Linked DNA regions of Homo sapiens: regions 1, 2, 4 and 5 are each linked to region 3. Evidence: promoter capture Hi-C in 16 types of primary human blood cells and fetal thymus (Javierre and others, 2016). All regions are on one chromosome and are shown on one strand. The core of a region is centred on a gene start or on the middle of the fragment in contact, and the rest is flanking DNA. Distances in the headings are between cores, read along the strand shown. Region 1 overlaps ABCC5 (ATP binding cassette subfamily C member 5). Region 2 holds the start of PSMD2 (proteasome 26S subunit ubiquitin receptor, non-ATPase 2). Region 3 holds the start of EIF2B5 (eukaryotic translation initiation factor 2B subunit epsilon). Region 4 has its middle 29 kb from the start of MIR4448. Region 5 holds the start of PARL (presenilin associated rhomboid like).

Region 1 (3,790 bases), core at 537-3,036, 190 kb before region 3:
GCACAGAGCTGAATGCTTCTTAGGCAAAGTTAGGAGAACAGAGATCTTACAGCAAGCAGTTGAGGGGCAAACCAGAGGACAAGATGTCTTTTTTCTCCCTACCCCCTTATTAGGGCTGAGAGAGAGACTAAGACAAGGCCTCCTGTTGCCACAGCAGCAGCTGGGGAATTGAAGAAGTTCCAGGGATAAATAAACACATACGGGAAGGAGGTTTTGCCTCGACTCAATGAGTAGCTGTCAATGGCCCTACTGTGATAGGAAACTATGGCAGAGAAGCAGGTTTGGGGGATCAGTGTTATTACAGTAATCAGCAGAACAGGTTAACCAAATCTTCATTTGAAAAGTTTACATAAGTAATACGAGATGACATCATCAATCTCCCATAATCTCACTTCTATCATTTTAGGCACACTTCCTTTCGGTCTTTCCTCAGAGTTGAGATCATATCAGAAATGCAATATTGTAATTGCTTTTTTCACTTAACACTGCATTGGCCGGGCACGGTGGCTCATGCCTGTAATCCCAGCACTTTGGGAGGCTGAGGCGGGCAGATCACCTGAGGTCAGGAGTTCGAGACCAACCTGGCCAACATGGTGAAACCCTGTCTCTACTATAAATACAAAAATTAGCTGGGCAAGATGGCGAGTGCCTGTAATCCCAGGTACTTGGGAAGCTAAGGCAGGAGAATCACTTGAACCTGGGAGGCGGAGGTTGCAGTGAGCCAAGATCGTATCATTGCACTCCAGCCTGGGCGACAGAACGAGACTCTGTTTCAAACAAAACAAAACAAAAGCATTGTATAACACTCAGTCAACCATCTTTTAAAAAAATTTTCAAGATAAAATTTTAGTGGTTGCATTCCATCATGTGCATGTATTCTTGTTCAGCCAGCCCTCTAAGGGTCAACATTTAGTTTATGTAAAACTTATAATAATGTTATGTCCTATTATCTTAGTGCTGAAACTTTACTGCCACCTCAGACAATTTCCTTGGGAAAGAATCTTAGAACTGAAATTACTGTGTCAAAGGATATAAACATTTAAAAGGTGCTCTCTCTACAGAGCCAAAAAGAAAAGAAGTTTGCCATAGTCCTGTCTACCTTTCTGCAACTTGGTTCCATGGTTTAGATTTAGAACTACAGGGTTTTAGCTGTTGAATCACTTTTCCTTGGCTGTACGCCTGGTTCTTGACCCTCCTACCTTTCTCGTGCCACCATGTCATGAAAGACCTCTTGTGAGGGCCTCATCGAGATCACCACGATGCTGTCTCTTCAGCACTCATGGAGGGCGCAAACAGCCTGCCTTGCCCCAGTGTCTACAGCCACGACCCCACTGTCGGGATCTACCCCCTGGGCATACCTCTGTCTAACAGCCTAATGGGAACCTGAAAAACACCCATAAGACTTGGAAGAAGTAACGCCCAGGAAACTTGGAAAAAGCTGTATTAGGACCCATCTTCCTAATGCAACAATCCTCACATCCTTCTACCAGAAACGAGTTAGGAAACCTGGTCCGTCTAGCAGGATAGTTCTCCTCCTAGAAATGAGTGACTCCAGGCCGGTGGGCGCAGCGGTTCACACCTGTAATCCCAGCACTTTGGGAGGCCAAGGTGGGTGGATTACTTGAGGCCAGGAGTTTGAGACCAGCCTGGCAAACATGGCAAAACCCTGTCTCTACTAAAAAATACAAAAAAAAAAAAAAATTAGCTGGGCATGGTGGCATGTGCCTGTAATCCCAGCTACTCCAGAGCCGAGATTGCACCACTGCACTCTAGCCTGGGCAACAGACTGAGACTCTGTCTCAGGAAAAAAAAAAAAAAAAAAAAAAAAAATGAATGACTCTGTTCAGGGTTGGGGGACTCAGTTACTGGCCCCTTTCCCAGATAGGAGGGGAGGAGACATTCCCTCTGGGCCGAGGCAGGGCTTTAAGATCTAAGCTAAGGAAGGAATGGTGCCCGAAACAATGGGTCAAGTTGTTCCAGTTTAACAAAAGGTGCCTAGGTTTGGACCACCTGGACTGGAAGACTTTAGAGTCCTCTGAATCTGACTACCTTTGCACTGATGGAATGTGCTGGTAAGAAAGGCAGTGAAGTCCTCAAGATGGTGTCCTTGACTGACATGACCACAGGAGAGTTTCCAAGTTACCCGTGAAACTTGGAAGAAGCCCTATTAGAACCGGAGTGTAAATCAGGTTATTATTATTATTATTATTATTATTTGAGATGGAGTTTCGCTCTTGTTGCTCAGGCTGGAGGGCAATAGCGCAATCTCAGCTCACTGCAACCTCCGCCTCCTGGGTTCAAGAGATTCTCCTGCTTCAGCCTCCCGAGTAGCTGGAATTACAGGCATCCACCACCACGCCCAGCTAACTTTCTGTATTTTTAGTAGAGATGAGGTTTCACCATGTTGGCCAGGCTGGTCTTGAACTCCTGACGTCAGGTGATCCACCAGCCTGGGCCTCCCAGAGTGCTGGGATTACAGGCGTGAGCCACTGCACCTGGCCACTATGTTCTTTTTCTTGTTTCTCTTCTGTCACTAACTACTGTTTAATGAAGTTGTGGTGCTTGTTTTGGCCTATCTCACCTGTGTTAAAGGGAAATCATAACAAAGGACATCAGTCAGCTTTCAGGGGAGCAGTGTACCCCTGGGGACGAATGCAGCAGATGGGCTCAAGGGAGAGAACAGTAAAAAGGCTTGGGGAGAGTCACCCTGCTTGGCTAAAGATTCCCTTCCAGCATGAAAGACCTGGAGCAATGTCTTGTTTTGACGTGAAGTAATTCCCTCAAACAGAAAGCAGGAAATGGCTTTTTCCTTTTCTTCCTTAGAAAGTTCTTTAAAATCAATTGGCCAGAAAAGACAAAAGGTTTTTTTTTTTTTAATGGCAAGGAAAAAAGCTAGAAGAGTTTTGATGCCAAAGAAGCATGGAGCCTAGAAAACTAATGAAAACTGAATCAAAGATACCTCTTATACAAGGATAAAAAGGACAGTAAAAGAAGACAAGTTCAGTCTTTGGAATGCAATTCAGGAACGAAAGTGAGAAAAAAGGGGCCGGGTGCGATGGCTCACACCTGTAATCCCAGCACTTTCAGAGGCTGAGGCGGGTGGATCATGAGGTCAGGAAATCGAGACCGTCCTGGCCAACATGGTGAAACCCTGTCTCTACTAAAAATACAAAAAAATTAGCTGGCGCCCCTGTAGTCCCAGCTACGTGAGAGGCTGAGGCAGGAGAATCGCTTGAACCTGGGAGGTGGAGGTTACAGTGAGCTGAGATCGTGCTACTGCACTCCAGCCTGGCAACAGAGTGAGACTTTGTCTCAAAAAAAAAAAGAAGTAAATTACTCAAGTCCTGACCCTAGAAATCTAAAGGATCTACAGTTACGCATTTCTTTTCTTTTTTTTTTGAGACGGAGTCTCGCTCTGTCACCCAGGTTGGAGTGTAGTGGCGTGATCTTGGCTCACTGCAACCTCCGCCTCCCAGGTTCACGCCATTCTCCTGCCTCAGCCTCCCAAGTAGCTGGGATTACAAGCATGTGCCACCACACCTGGCTAATTTTGGACTTTTAGTAGAGACGGGGTTTCACCATGTTGTTCTGGCTGGTGTTGAACTCCTCAGGTGATCCACCCGCCTCGCCCTCCCAAAGTGCTGGGATTACAGGCATGAGCCACTGCGCCCAGCCTACTGATAGTTTTAAAAGAAGGCCATGAAACAGCATGTGTCAATGACCTCATTTTTGTAAACCTACATATTACTAGAGGAAGCCTAACAAGATAGCTACCAAAATGTTACCAGTG
Region 2 (3,913 bases), core at 1,414-3,913, 160 kb after region 3:
AAAAAAAAAAAAAAAAAAAAAGCAGTTTTAGTGGGTCTATCATGATTTACAAATGGAGAAACCTCATGATTTTCCAGTGCCTAGTTCTGGCCTCCAAAGACAGCTCCCAGTGGGTTGTTATTATACACAAAGATGGCCTGAAGATGAATGCAAAGCCATTCATTCATTCATTCATTCCGCATGCATGCATTCTGCAAATATTTATCAAGGCTCACTACAAGCCAGGCGCTAGGCTGGAGGCTAGGAGCATAAAGATGAATAAGACACAGTTCCAGGCCGGGCGCAGTGGCTCATGCCTGTAATTCCAGCACTTTGGGAGGCCAAGGCAGGCAGATAACTTGAGGTCAGGAGTTCAAGACCAGCCTGGCCAACATGGTGAATCCCCGTCTCGACTAAAAATACAAACATTAGCGGGGTGTGGTGGTGCATGCCTGTAGTCCCAGTTACTTGGGAGGCTGAAGCAGGAAAATCACCTGAACCCGGGAGGCAGAGGTTGCAGCAAGCTGAGATCATGCCACTGCACTCCAGCCTGGACGACAGAGCGAGACTCCGTCTGGAAAAAAAAAAAAAAAAGAAGAAGGAAGTCATGGATAAAGAGGAGTTTTAGAAAAAAATCCCTCTACAGATGACTGAAGAAAGCATGAAAATGTATGGACACCGTGAAGCCAGAGATAGAATAGGCAGAACAGTTATGGACTGTTGAATTTTTGTCTGCAGACCAGCGCTGGGGGAGTCATTGGCAATGGCAATGGAAGGTCATGCCTAGAATCCAAGCACTGAGTGGAAAAGAGCAACAGGTATTTAAAATGGATTCAGACCTTTACTTCCGTATCTACACAAACATTTACCCAACATTCACTCTGTGATATGTTGTACTAGGTGTCTTTTTCTTCAATGTGTCAGAACCCATAAAATAAGATTGCTAGAAGACTCCTGAGTGTTCCCACTAGGTGAAAGGGAGAAGAGATACTTCCTTTTTTCTCACCTTACACGCACACACACACACACACAGCTGAAGAAGAAACTCTGGGGTTTGCCTAAAACAGTCAAGGGCTTTGAAGACTGAAAGACTGAGCTTTAAATTTTGATTCCGCCGGGCGCGGTGGCTCACGCTTGTAATCCCAGAACTTTGGGAGGCCGAGGCGGGCGGATCACCTGAGGTCGGGAGTTGGAGACCAGCCTGACCAACATGGAGAAACCCCGTCTCTACTAAAAATACAAAAATTAGCCGGGCGTGGTGGCACAAAAATTCAACAGTCCATAACTGTTCTGCCTATTCTATCTCTGGCTTCACGGTGTCCATACATTTTCATGCTTTCTTCAGTCATCTGTAGAGGGATTTTTTTCTAAAACTCCTCTTTATCCAGCTACTCGGGAGGCTGAGGCAGGAGAATCACTTGCACCCGGGAGGCGAAGGTTGTGGTGAGCCGAGATTGCGCCATTGCACTCCAGCCTGGGCAACAGGAGAGAAACACTATCTCAAAACAAATAAATAAAATAAAAAATAAATCCTCATTTTACTACTTGATATGATCTTCTCTGTAAAATGGACCTAACCCTACCAATCTCAAAAGATTGTAAGAAGTGCATGGAATCACTCGAAAGCAGTCCTGACATAAGCGCGTCAGTCACACGCCTCTAAGGCTTCACAGGGAAAGACGAGAAGATAGAGGACGAAGACCTTGTCTTGTTCTGCTTTTAGCTCCAGAACTTGGCGGGGAGCACAGGGCTTTATTGATCGATGTCAACTCCACCTGGCTCCCCAAAGTATTTAAAATGGTAGCCACGGGAATAGCAGAGTACTCTCTTTCAACTGGGGAGGAATATCAAATGAGGTTAATAGGCCGGGCGCGGTGGTTCACACCTGTAATTACAGCTCTTTGGGAGGCTGAGGCGGGCAGATCACTTGAGGTCAGGAGTTCGAGACCAGCCTGGCCAACATAGTGAAACCCCCGTCTCTACTAAAAAATACAAAAATTAGCTGGGCGTGGTGGCGGGCGCCTGTAATCCCAGCTACTCGGGAGGTTGAGGCACGAGAATCACTTGAACCTGGTAGGCGGAGTTTGCAGTGAGCCGAGATCGCGCCACTGCACTCCAGCCTGGGCGAGAGAGCGAGCCTCCTTCTCAAAAGCAACAACAACAACAAAACCAAATGAGGTTAATATTCCACAGTGGTGTGGGGCTAGACACAGTTACACAGACTTTATACAGGCGGCAATCAAGCGTCCTGGACGTCAAGAAATCTAGTTTGTCTGTCGCGCCACGCAGTCAACTGGAGTGTCACTGTGGGTTCTATTTACACCGTTATGAGAAAAACCTGTGGCGGAGTAAAACTCGGTAACTCCGCTCGCAGACCGCCCATCTACAGCAGTGAGCGAACCCAAACCCCACACGGCCAAGTCCCGCGGGTTTCAGGAAACTCCGAAGAGGTCGGGGGCCAGGGGCGACTATGGCGCGGGGGAGGCTGGGAATTGTAGTCTCCACCTGCCTCCGAGGGCGGGGTCCGAGGGCGGGGCTCTCAGGCCGAGGGGGTGGGTGGGTCGCCGAGCGCCCCGGCTCGCCCCGGCGTTTCCGGTCGCAGGCGGGCTCTGGAGGAGGAGGGGCGCCGCGACCGACGCGCGCGAGTTGGTCTGGGAAAAAGGGCGGTGCGAGCGGGTGCGCGCGCAGCGGGCCGGCAGTGGCGGCGGAGATGGAGGAGGGAGGCCGGGACAAGGCGCCGGTGCAGCCCCAGCAGTCTCCAGCGGCGGCCCCCGGCGGCACGGACGAGAAGCCGAGCGGCAAGGAGCGGCGGGATGCCGGGGACAAGGACAAAGAACAGGAGCTGGTGAGGCGCGACCCCGAGAGTCGGCGAAGGAGGCTGCGGGGCTGAGTCACGGCGGCTCCGCAGGCCTCAGGCCCGACACCCAACTACCCCACCGCGCCAGGGAGAGGGCGGTTGGGGCGACCCTCGGGACTCCCGGCACCTTGCCTCTCTGCTCCTCATTCTCCGTTCCGCGCTGTCACCTCCGCCGTCCCCACCAACCCTCACCACCGCCGCGTGAAGTGGACTCGGGCAGGTCATTGTCACCTCCGTTTCCTAGAGTGGCATTCAAGTAGAGCCTGATTCAGAACCCAGGCTGATTTCTCACCAGGGCTTCCCATTCCCACTCGGTTTCCTTGTCCACCTGGCCCCTCCTAAGGAGGCAGGCTTATTCTTCACCTGCCCCGGGTAAGTGGGAGGAGGACGTCTTTGGGATTCCTTCTCTTCATGAGCTGCTTCTCCCAACCCTCCAGTCTGAAGAGGATAAACAGCTTCAAGATGAACTGGAGATGCTCGTGGAACGACTAGGGGTGAGTCACGATGTTAACATGATTCGGTGCATGTTTGGATCTTTCCCACTTGTTTTATTCTTTTTTGAGGCAACTGCTATGTACGGTGGACTGTATTTTAGGGTCAGTGTTATGATGATGTTGGGAGGCAGGAGAGTTACAAAGGGTATTTGTACAGTTTTGCAGCTTTCTCTTGTGGGAGAAGCAGAGTTCTTACCTCTTAACTTGGGTCATTTGTTTTTGTGCCAGGCAGGGTGCAGGGAGTTGAGGAATCACAGATGAATGAATAAGACACAGCATTTCCTTGGAGGAGTTGTTAAGTTAAATATCTCTGTATTATGACTTGAAGGGGTGTGACTCCTTTTTGTCTGAGCCCTGTCGTCTCTTGATCAGGAGAAGGATACATCCCTGTATCGACCAGCGCTGGAGGAATTGCGAAGGCAGATTCGTTCTTCTACAACTTCCATGACTTCAGTGCCCAAGCCTCTCAAATTTCTGCGTCCACACTATGGCAAACTGAAGGAAATCTATGAGAACATGGCCCCTGGGGAGAATAAGGTAAAACTGTTTCAAACCTGGTGGAGGCCTAGTTTAGGAATTCCTT
Region 3 (3,378 bases), core at 290-2,789:
ACTTCCCAAGGTTGCGGGAATCATTTAAAATAAATTCTGCAATCGGACCTACTTTCCATACCCAAACACCCCCCCAAGAGTGTGTGTGTGTGTGTGTTTGTGTGTGTGTGTGTGTGTCCTATTTAATTCCTTCTCCCCTCCCCCATTTCTACCTCTGGATTTGTAGGGCAGTTGAACATTCCTTTTCTACAACGTGCATTCATTTAATGGAAAACTTTTACTTAGTTGGCTTCAGCCTTTCCTTTTCTAGGATAAATCAAATGGTTTTCGTTCCGCACCCTAACGAGGCAAGAAATGACAAACTCCTCGGTCCCCCTAGGCGGGCGCCGGAGCACGACGGGTCAAGTCGGAATCGCCACGTGGAAACAGCTCTCAGCATCGCGAACTCCAAATCCCGACGTGCAACGCGGGGCGGGATGGGAACAGTTTGCAGGAACTGCAGAAGCCTGTGGCGTGGAACCTGGACAGGTCCCGTGCAGAAAGGGCGCTATGCCTTACAGAAAAGTTCCTTGCCTCCCAAATGACGCCCAGCCTTCCTGCCCCGTTCCACCGCTTTCCCACGGCCCCGCCCCTCTACAGAGTTGGTTTATTCCCCGCAGCCACCGCTTCTTTCCCCAAAGAGAAAAAGGTGCTGCTGCGCCTTTTCAAGCCTTGGACCTTTACGCCCGCACTTTCCTCTGCCCAGAAAGCTTACTGCTTAACTCCAGTACAACTTACTGGTGCGCCTGGATCCACCCCCGTCTCCACTCTGCTTAAGACACAGGAGGCTGATAGGCTGGAAGAATGAATAGATGACATAAAATAGTCATTGTTATCCCCACATAACTTGGCAGCAAGATTGTGGAACTCTGCAGTCAGACAGATCGGGTTCCAATACCAGTTCTTCCACTTACTAGCTGGGTAAACTTCCTTCATCCTTCTGAGAGTTCAAGAAACGTTTGCTGAACGAATGAATAAGATGTTTTGCAGAGATAATGCTTGTATCGTGCCTGGCCCAAAATCAGCGCTCAATGGAATTACTGGTCTCCCTACTATATGCCTGCCACCTTCTCTATTTATGCAGGTTCTGAGTTCCTCGCAGCGGGGGAACATCTGGCTCGGTTCTATCTCCCCAAGGCGCTGGGTTCCCAGAAGTTTCTAGAATGAATACGGAGGGCTACATATTTCACATGCGCGGGGCGGGGAAACTGCTGGGCGATTACAGATTCCCGATGGAGCTGGCCCCTTCGTGGCGACCACAAGTCCTATCACGCCACAAGAATCTCGGCTTGTTCACCTACAAATGAAGGCCGACGATACTTGCAGACCGAGTCTGACATCTATGGGACCCCACTCCTACCCTGCGCCTCAGGGGCCGGGACAACCGTGACCCGTACCGACTCCTCGCGCCTCCGGGATCAACCTCAGACCCCTGTGGGCTCCCGGGGAAGACGCATGCGCACTGCTCCCTCCTCGTCTCCTTCCCTTCGTTAATTAGTCCATCGCATTTCAAGTGCTGGATCCTTTTTGTCCCCTACTGCGTGCGGTGGCAGCTTCCTTGCGGAAGTGGTGACCGTGAGAGAAGAAGATGGCGGCCCCTGTAGTGGCGCCGCCTGGTGTGGTGGTTAGTCGGGCTAACAAGCGCAGCGGCGCGGGGCCGGGAGGCAGCGGTGGCGGGGGAGCCAGAGGGGCGGAGGAGGAACCGCCGCCGCCCCTACAAGCAGTTCTGGTGGCCGATAGCTTCGATCGCCGCTTCTTCCCCATCTCCAAGGACCAGCCTCGGGTGAGCGCCGCGCACGCGAGCAGCCAGAGGGCAGGAAGGGTGGCAGGGCTGGAGCAAGTTCTCATTTCGGCTAACTACAACAGCATGCCCTTGAAGGACCTGCGTCTATGCTGTTATCCTAAAACCGGATGCAGAGGGACTGTCTAAACCCTGATGACTGCTGACCAAGTTAGTGGCCGGCAGATTTGGGCATTCGTAATGCTGTCCACCTCGGGTTTGAAAGGAATGAAGAGAGCTAAATGTAGAAACAGCGCTTGAGAGAAGCCTTCACGCGGGGATTCAGTGCCCCTAGAAGAGGCTGCGCCGCTTTTAACCTTGCCGATGACGGTTGCTTAGGTGAAAAGAAACGACCTTTTGCCTCTGAAAGGGCGGTAATATGCCTTAAAAAGAGCGGGCTAGATCTCAGGCAGTGTATTTTTTTTTTCCTTCCAGGTTCTAATGATAGCCGGTGCTATCTGTCGAAAGGACAAAATGGGTTTAGTGGTTGATTGCCATCAGCCCCCGAGTTGTCTAGACAATGGGGTATTGGACTCAGCTGGGTCGTTCAGCAGTCAGTTCAGAAAGAGGGAACTGCATTGGATTTAAGGAAAATCCTCTCTAATTCCCTCGAAAAAGCCTAATGGCTGTTCATTTTTGACAAGTGACGGGAGATGGCTAACCTCTGACACTTAGAAAGGGATCAAGGAAGGAAATCTTATGGGGAAGAAGGCCTTAGCAATGCTTAAATTTATGGAAATATGATTGATTTCCAGTATTATCCTTTGCCAGCAGTGAACTGCCATTCTGTCACAGCTCTGTGTCTGATACAAGGCACATAGATTCTGTACTTACCATCCCCAAATTGCAATGTCTCAGACTCAGGCTTAGAGCATGGCATGAACATCAAAGGCAGGAACCTGTTTATCTTTGAATTGGAAAGATACAGCAAAATTACACTGTTTGGAAATACGAATAGAGGAGTGAAAATTGTTGCAGTGGGGTACCCAAAGGGATTCGAGACCTCAAGTTTTTTTTCATCTTGTATCCTTCAGGTCCTCTTGCCCCTGGCCAATGTGGCATTAATTGACTACACTCTGGAATTCCTGACTGCCACAGGTGTACAGGAAACATTTGTCTTTTGTTGCTGGAAAGCTGCTCAAATCAAAGAACATTTACTGTAAGGCCCTGCAACTTTTCTTTCCATGTTTCGCCATCTTTTTCCAGTTTTTTCAGGATGAATGTAACTAAGGGGAAATGTGAGAGGGGAAAAATGTGTCTACTTAGATGTCATTGTAAGTTCTAAGGGTATTTTCTACACTTATCAGGAGGTGAGCAGCTGAAACTTTGTATCTGTCTGTCTTGGGTTTTCTGTGACAAAGATTAAAGAATAAACTTGGGTTTTTTCTGAATCTCATTATAAAGTTTGGTGCCAGTGGACTTTGCTTTTATTTAATGGCTTCAGTATGGAAGTTACAATGATAACATCTTTGTTTTCCCACTGAGTTTCTAAATCTTGTTTGTTCTCACCTTCAAGGATATAAATGAGCTCCTTGTCATCTTTGTATTCCCACTGCCTAGCTCAGTCCCAAGCATATAGTGAGCACTTACATGTTTGTTGAAATCTTGAAAACTAGGGA
Region 4 (3,574 bases), core at 1,038-3,537, 220 kb before region 3:
AACAACTCAGGCAGGTCGCAGTGGCTCACACCTGTAATCCCAACACTTTGGGAGGCTGAGGTGGGTGGATCACCCGAGATCAGGAGTTCGAGACCAGCCTGGCCAACATGGTGAAACCCCATCTCTACTGAAAACACAAAAATTAGCTAGGTGTGATGGGTGCCTGTAATCCCAGCTACTCGGGAGGCTGAGGCAGGAGAATCGCTTGAACCTGGTAGGCGGAGGTTGCAGTGAGCCGAGATCACACCACTGCACTCCAGCCTGGGTGACAGAGCGAGACTTCGTCTCAAAACAAAACAAAAACAATTCAACTAAGATGACAGATGACGCGGCTGCGCCCCTTCCCTATATGAGGTATTTCCACACCAAATTTCTAAATCTATCCCCTCTACAGCACGGTGAAGGCTATTATGTGAAGGCTTCATCCCCTCACAGATGAAGGCAAGGCTCAGCAGGTGTAGTGATTTGCTCAAGGAAGTGGGAGGGCGGCCACAATTCTACCCAGGCCTTCAGTCTCCAAATTCAGTGTTCTCTTTCCACAGCTGCCTCCCAGCTGTGACAGGCTGGCATTCTCACAAGGAAGGTTCCTATAGGCTAAGAGAACACACACACGAGGAAGCAGAGCTAGTCACACTTCCAAAGGTTCCGGCCTGGCCTCAGAGGCCTCCGTGTGGCTCAGGCTGCCCCCGGGCCTGGCGTGTGCTTCCCGCCTGAGGCTGCCCCAGGGCCTCAGAGCTGGTGTATTCTTTCTTCTCCTCCCTTGTCTGTCTGCAGACCCCATCCAGGGGAGAGCCCCTTCCATGGCCCTTGGAGAAACAGTGGTTAAGGAATGCTGGATCAACAGCTTTAGCCATGGGCCTGTGCCCAGGCAGGGGCCGTTTCCCATAGCAGACTGACCCTCACTGTAGATCCCGCAACACCCCCTCCTGTGGATAGATCTCAGAACAAAAGAACACCCCTTTCCCCTTCTAGAGCGACCCAAACCCAGTACCCACTCCACACTCAGTGCCTGGAAGTTGCTCCGCCCCACACCCCCACTCCAGCAAGGTAGGCCCACCCCCTACTTCTCCCTGACTAGGAAAGGGAGGAGATAAAAATAAGGAGCTACAGAGACCACTAGAGGTGGAAGGAATGAGAACTAGGCAGAAGAGACCCCCCTCCAGTTACCTCCATGCACCTGAACACAGAAGGAGAATTCCATTCCTTGCGGTTGTGTTTAACTTGTCCAATGTGTCCCAGTGCCCATGGGAGTGAATGGGAACAAATACAGGGGGCTTGCCTGCCTCTAGACATTATGTGAAGGCCCCAAAGGACAGGAGCTATTTCTGGGGAGGGCTGGGAGACCCAGGATCCTCTAACTGAAGGAGGGGCAGACTCAGGGACCACATCCAGGCAAGCCAGGGCACGGGCCAGCGCTAGAGGACATAGCCCTGCTTTGCATATTTTATTATCAATAGTTCCTTCTTTCACTCTTGGTGTGACTCTATGACCAGTGGTTCTGCACATCCCCAGGTTTCGTAGATGAAGAAAGGATGACGTGCTGCCTGACAGCTTGCAATGAACTCAGCATCTAGAATTTTGCAGAGTGTTCCAGTGGAGTTCCCACGGGGAGCTGCTTTCCTTCAAGCCCAGCTTTGAGTAAGGGGAGCGGGGCAGTGGGACTCGCCACTGCCATGCTGTGCTCCAGCCAGGATGATCTCAGGGCACAGGGAGAGGCTTCGTGTCCGAAGAGTGTGGCAAAGGGCAGCCAACATCCTCCCCCTCCCTGCCCCCAACACACACACCCACAATCGCACCCCATCAAGGGCAGTAGAATTAGCCATCCAACCAGAATGATGTCTTTATTGTTCCCAGGATATTCATCTTATCCGAGAATGATTCATGGCAGCTATTATTTAAAATATTAAAAATATTCAAGGCTGGGCACAGTGACTCATGCCTGTAATCCCAGCACTTTGGGAGGCCGAGGCAGGTGGATCACCTGAGGTCAGGAGTTCGAGACCAGCCTGGCCGACATGGCAAAATCCCATCTCTACTGAAAATAAAGAAATTAGCCAGGCGTGGTGGCACGGGCCTGTAATCCCAGCTACATGGGAGGCTGAGGCAGAATTGCTTGAACTCGGGAGGTGGAGGTTGCAGTGAGCTAAAATCGTGCCACTGCACTCCAGCCTGGGAGACAGAGCGAGACTCCATTTCAATAAATGAATAAATAAATAATATTCAAGACGGTCAAAAGGAAAGATCAAAATATTATGAAGGATGAGGGAAACAAGCTGAGATAAACATACAGGGCCCTGAGCTTCCTGTCGGCTAAAATAAGAAGGAGGAAACAATGTGTTCCAGAATCCTCACTGAGAAGCAGAGAATTTTCCCGAGATCAGATTCTGAAAGGGATTTCTTGTGTGGACACAACTGCCAACAGAGATTTTTTTTTTTTTTTTTTTTTTTTTTTTTGAGACAGAGTTTCACTCTTGTTGCCCAGGCTGGAGTGCAGTGGCACAATCAACTCACTGCAACCTCTATTTTCCGGTTTCAAGTGGTTCTCCTGCCTCAGCCTCCCAAGTAGCTGGGATTACAGGTGCCTGCCCCCACGCCTGGCTAATTTTTGTATTTTGTATTTTCAGTAGAGACAGGGTTTCACCATGTTGGCCAGGCTGGTCTCGAACTCCTGACCTCATGATCTGCCCACCTTGGCTTCCCAAAGTGCTGGGTTACAGGTGTGAGCCACCACGCCTGGCCTGCCAACAGAGATTTTATGGAAGATGAAGTAGCAGGTTTCTTCATGTGCCCATTTCCGAGAGTGACTCCAGGACTCGCCAAGGGTATTGAAACTGAAGGAGTGGTAGTCTTTCTCCAAGTACAACACGGCTCGGCTGGGGATTGAAGGGTAGAACCTGATCATACGTAGGCATGGCGGGATGGCATGTATGTTCCCAAGGTGTCACTTCTCTTAGCCAAACATTGTTTTGCTTATTATCTAAGTATGAATGCCAGCGATTATATCAAATGGTAGGTGGCTGGGATCCAGCCCCTGTATTTTGATCAGCTGTCAGGATCCCAGAGAAAATATACACAGAGGCTGCTCTAGCAAAACCTTTCTGTTGACGACTTCACGCCTTTGGCACTGAGAGGCAGCGTGGTGGGCTAGTCCGGAGAGTCTGGTGCCTGAAGACTCCTGTGGCTGGAGGAGTTGCCCAGGGCCCAGAAACTAGCAGCCCCAGGCCCACATCCTTATTACAATGGACCTTTAGATCTTACCACATCCTAGGAAAGGAAGGGAGATCGGAGATAGGGAATACCAAGGACAAGAGAGAAAGGGTGTCTCTGAATAACCCAGGGCAGGACTGGCCAGGTGCCATCCCTGGACTCCTAGGTCATGACCGAGAAACTCAGAGGAGGAGAAAGGGTGAGAAAAAGTGAGCAAGTTACTTAAAGTTTCTCTTCTCCTTTGGACTATAATCTCCCTGTGTCTTGTTTCTGGTCTCCTGTGCCCAGCAGAAGGTATGGGACCTAGTGACTGTTCAATAAATAGTTTTTGGGAAAAGAGCCCGAGGGGGCTGGAGTCCAGGTATTG
Region 5 (3,429 bases), core at 613-3,112, 250 kb before region 3:
ATGTATATTTTTTATGCAACCACGAAAATGTCATTTTCAAACTTTCTATACAAATGGCAAGCTTTTCAGACATTAAATACTAATCTTCAACATTTCATGTGTTTCTGGTTCACTGTTTCAAATGGTCTTTATACTCAATTTTTACTAGAGGCTCATTAGTTTTCTTTTGCTTCCCCTTCCTAAAACCAATACGGTGATGTGTACATAAATCTTAAATGTTTAACACACTTCCTGTTGCTTCCTAATACACGTACAGTATTTATTTATTTTACATGGAGTCTCACTCTGTTGCTCAAGATGAAGTGCAATGGCACGATCTCGGCTCACTGCAACCTCCGCCTCCCAGGTTCAAGCCATTCTCCTGCCTCAGGCTCCCGAGTAGCTGGGATTACAGGCGCCCGCCACCATGCCCCGCTAATTTCTTGTATTTTTAGTAGAGACGGGGTTTTGCAATGTTGGCCAGGCTGGTCTTGAACTCCTAACTTCAGGTGATCCACCTGCCTCAGCCTCCCAAAGTGCTAGGATTACAGGCGTGTGAGCCACCACGCCCGGCCAGTATTAATCTTTTCTTTCCCCCTTAAACCATGCAATCTCAAATGGGATTACCACCTCCATCTGTCCTCATTTTCCACCTCCCCAGGAGTTTAAGATTAGTGCCTGACAGATCTATGTTAGTGTATGAAGATACAATGTATGTAAAGTTTTCACAAGTCCCTGATAAAATTCACCTGGAATGCTTGTCGGACATATAGGTTCTTCCACTCCACCCACCCCTCTCCTGATTGTGATTTGGGAGGACTGGGGTGAGGCCTGGGACATAAAATCCATACAAACTCTTCAGGTGATCCTTGAGATTAGGCAATGGCTCCGCCACATTAGAGCCTCGATTATTTACCACTGACTATCCCACGTGTTGATAAACAATGTTTCTTATCAGCAATCAGGTGGATTCGAGGCACCCATCTAACCAAGTCAGAAATTGGAAGGAATGAAGTTTTGAACAAAAGAGGAGGAAAATTTTCAAAGCCAAATGCACATCAGATTCTTAAACAGGTGAGGAATTTCTCTCTTCTCTCTCAAATTAGAAATGAATTACTGTGATGCAAAAATCAGCAATACTGATCAACCATACGCTTCACACTTCTACTCGGAAGGTTCGGCAGTTTTCTTTCCAAATCAACCGGAAACGAAATCTTCCACTGTCTCAATTCAACAATAAAGCCTCTCCTACGACTTTGCCAGACACAAAGTGATACCTTCCATCAGACTTCGTCCTCCCTTAGATCACAAGCTAAAGAAGGCGACTGGTTGTAATGGAACACAACCTTTATAATTAGATGGAAAAAGAATAAAAACCGCCATTCTGCCAGCTGTACTAACTTCTTCACTTCAGAAACTGGCTCAACAGTTTCCACTCGCGATTATGAAGTGTGGCACGCAATGAACCCTCAGCTTAGTTCCCCTTCCAGTCACGTCCTTCCCAATGGGAAAGGAGAAAGCGCAGGCTCGCGGGGGGCTGGGCTGGGCAAGGGGAGCGAGAAGCGAGGACTGGACGGAGGCGAGAGAGGAGAGAGAAGGGGCAGGTAAGGTGAAGGGGGTGAGCTGGGGCCAGCACAAGAGGCCCAGACGGCCTCCGCCCCCGAGGATACACGGCCAGAGCTCAGGGACCAAGAGGCGAGAAGACCAGAGCGCGGCGGCTATTACCTGCGTCCGAGGAGCTGCGGCGGGGTTAGGACCGCAGTGAGCTCCTCGCAGCTGCGGCCGCCCACCGACGCACCCCACGCCTGGCCGCAGCCCCAGCCTCTCTGCGCCCAGCCTCGCCACGCCATCTTCCCAACCTCTGCCCCACCATGGCCCGACCTTACCAACCCCAGCTGCGCAACTACTTCCGGGGCGAAGGCAACACCATAGAGCACGAGGAGCAGTCTAGAGCGCCCCCGCGCGGCTGAGCGGCAGCCGAACCAGCCACGGTGCCCGGACGACTGGCTGGCGCCCTTCTGTCCCACCGCTTCCCCTCCCACTGCTCAGCTGGCTCCGGGAGCGACCTGCGAGAGTGGCCCGGCCTCCCGGCATTTGCAGATGAGGAGGATGGGGCCAGAGCGAAGAGGGACAACTGTCATTTTTTCGAGTAACGGCACATACCAGGCGCTTTGCCTAAGATCGCATTTAATCGTCACAGCACTGCTAGAGGTAGATGTCATCACTGTTTCACTTTGCCTCTGGTCAGAGGGGATAGGACTTGCCCGGAGTTGCAGGGCTGGTCCCTAGAGGAACCAACGTGGCAAGCCAAGTTTTCTTAAATTACTACTTTTTTCTGCATCTCACCACTTCGTGTTATTCTGTATGCCTTTAACAAAGTCCAAGCCTATCGGGCGGGGTGGCTCACCCCTTTAATCCCAGCACTTTGGGAGGCCGAGGCCGGCGGATCACCTGAGGTCAGGAGTTCGATACCAGCCCGGCCAACATGGTGAAACCCCGTCTCTACTAAAAATACAAAAATTAGCCGGGCATGGTGGCAGGGGCCTGTAATCCCAGCTACTCAGTTGGCTGAGGCAGGAGTATTGCTTGAACCTGGGAGGCGGAGGTTGCAGTGAGCCGAGATTGGACCACTGCACTCCAGCCTAGGTGACAGAGCGAGATCCGTCTCAAAAAAATTACAAATACAAATACAAAAATTAGCTGGGCGTGGTGGCGCAAACCTGTAATCCCAGCTACTCGAGAGGCTGAGGTGGGAGAATCACTTGAACTCGGGAGGTTGCAGTGAGCCGATATCGTGCCAGCCTGGGCAACAGAGTGAGACCCTTTCTCATAAATAAATAAGTAAATAAACACAAAATCCAAGCCTGAAATGAAAAGCGGGCTTTCACTTTTTCATAATCCATCCCTCAACTACCTGTCAGTTAGCTTGATTCCCTGCCATTCCATTCCCCCCGACCCTAGCTGCAGCCATACAGTCATTGGCCATTACTCAAAGGCACCATCCGCGTTCCCACTGCTGAGCATTCATGCTACCGTTCTCACCACTTGAAACATCTAACCGACTTGTCCTTCAGGTCAGCCTCAAGTGTCACCTCTTCCAGGAGGCCTTTCCCAGACCTCCACTCCAATTTAGATTCCCTTCCTTTGTACTCACATACCGCTTTATGCTTATCTCTGCAATAGCACTTCATTCATTCCATAAGCTCTTATTAAGCACCTACAGTGTGTCAGGTGATATGTTAAACCTGGGGATACAATTGAGAAGACACTATATCTGACCTCACAAAGATTCTATTGTATTGGGGGAGAAGGCTCTGTAGGAGTCTAGAGAGGGGGGATATAGCCCAATTGAAGGAAGGGGCATGGGAGGCTCAGGGAGAAGGCTTCCCAGAGAAACTGATAGAGGTCACCAAGAGAAGAGGATTGAAGTGTTCCTCAGAAAGAATAGCA

What was found. Contacts are between HindIII fragments. The CHiCAGO score rates a contact against its expected background, and 5 or more counts as called.
Region 1: a contact is called between a fragment that was not itself captured here and the fragment with the promoter of EIF2B5 in region 3, in 1 of 17 cell types (M2 macrophages). The highest score is 5.1, in M2 macrophages.
Region 2: the fragment with the promoter of PSMD2 here is called in contact with the fragment with the promoter of EIF2B5 in region 3 in 3 of 17 cell types (endothelial precursors, M2 macrophages and M1 macrophages); the score reaches 7.6 in endothelial precursors.
Region 4: a contact is called between a fragment that was not itself captured here and the fragment with the promoter of EIF2B5 in region 3, in 1 of 17 cell types (M2 macrophages). The highest score is 6.0, in M2 macrophages.
Region 5: the fragment with the promoter of PARL here is called in contact with the fragment with the promoter of EIF2B5 in region 3 in 5 of 17 cell types (erythroblasts, megakaryocytes, M2 macrophages and 2 more); the score reaches 7.3 in erythroblasts.

The regions. Positions count from the first base shown.
Region 1 is chr3:183,938,659-183,942,448 of GRCh38, forward strand. All of the region lies in intron 25 of ABCC5 (ATP binding cassette subfamily C member 5), which reads right to left. Among named protein-coding and RNA genes, the nearest start is that of MIR4448, 54 kb to the left of the region's middle. The HindIII fragment of the contact is 7,094 bases long and covers 1-3,790 here.
Region 2 is chr3:184,296,578-184,300,490 of GRCh38, forward strand. PSMD2 (proteasome 26S subunit ubiquitin receptor, non-ATPase 2) reads left to right here and starts at 2,664. Exons shown (of 21, transcript NM_002808.5): 1 at 2,664-2,824; 2 at 3,274-3,330; 3 at 3,703-3,867. The coding sequence starts at 2,690. RefSeq lists a silencer at 2,332-2,671. The HindIII fragment of the contact is 6,965 bases long and covers 1-3,913 here.
Region 3 is chr3:184,133,819-184,137,196 of GRCh38, forward strand. It overlaps EIF2B5 (eukaryotic translation initiation factor 2B subunit epsilon), which reads left to right and starts at 1,540. Exons shown (of 16, transcript NM_003907.3): 1 at 1,540-1,762; 2 at 2,794-2,918. The coding sequence starts at 1,568. EIF2B5-DT (EIF2B5 divergent transcript) reads right to left here and starts at 1,443. Exons shown (of 2, transcript NR_183721.1): 1 at 718-1,443; 2 at 1-460. RefSeq lists enhancers at 1-570, 1,440-1,499, 1,820-1,889 and a silencer at 1,640-1,749. The HindIII fragment of the contact is 10,653 bases long and covers 688-3,378 here.
Region 4 is chr3:183,913,996-183,917,569 of GRCh38, forward strand. No RefSeq gene overlaps it. Among named protein-coding and RNA genes, the nearest start is that of MIR4448, 29 kb to the left of the region's middle. The HindIII fragment of the contact is 6,021 bases long and covers 1-3,574 here.
Region 5 is chr3:183,883,018-183,886,446 of GRCh38, forward strand. PARL (presenilin associated rhomboid like) reads right to left here and starts at 1,863. Exons shown (of 10, transcript NM_018622.7): 1 at 1,705-1,863. The coding sequence starts at 1,829. RefSeq lists silencers at 1,623-1,782, 1,893-2,043 and enhancers at 1,993-2,042, 2,083-2,312. The HindIII fragment of the contact is 9,960 bases long and covers 60-3,429 here.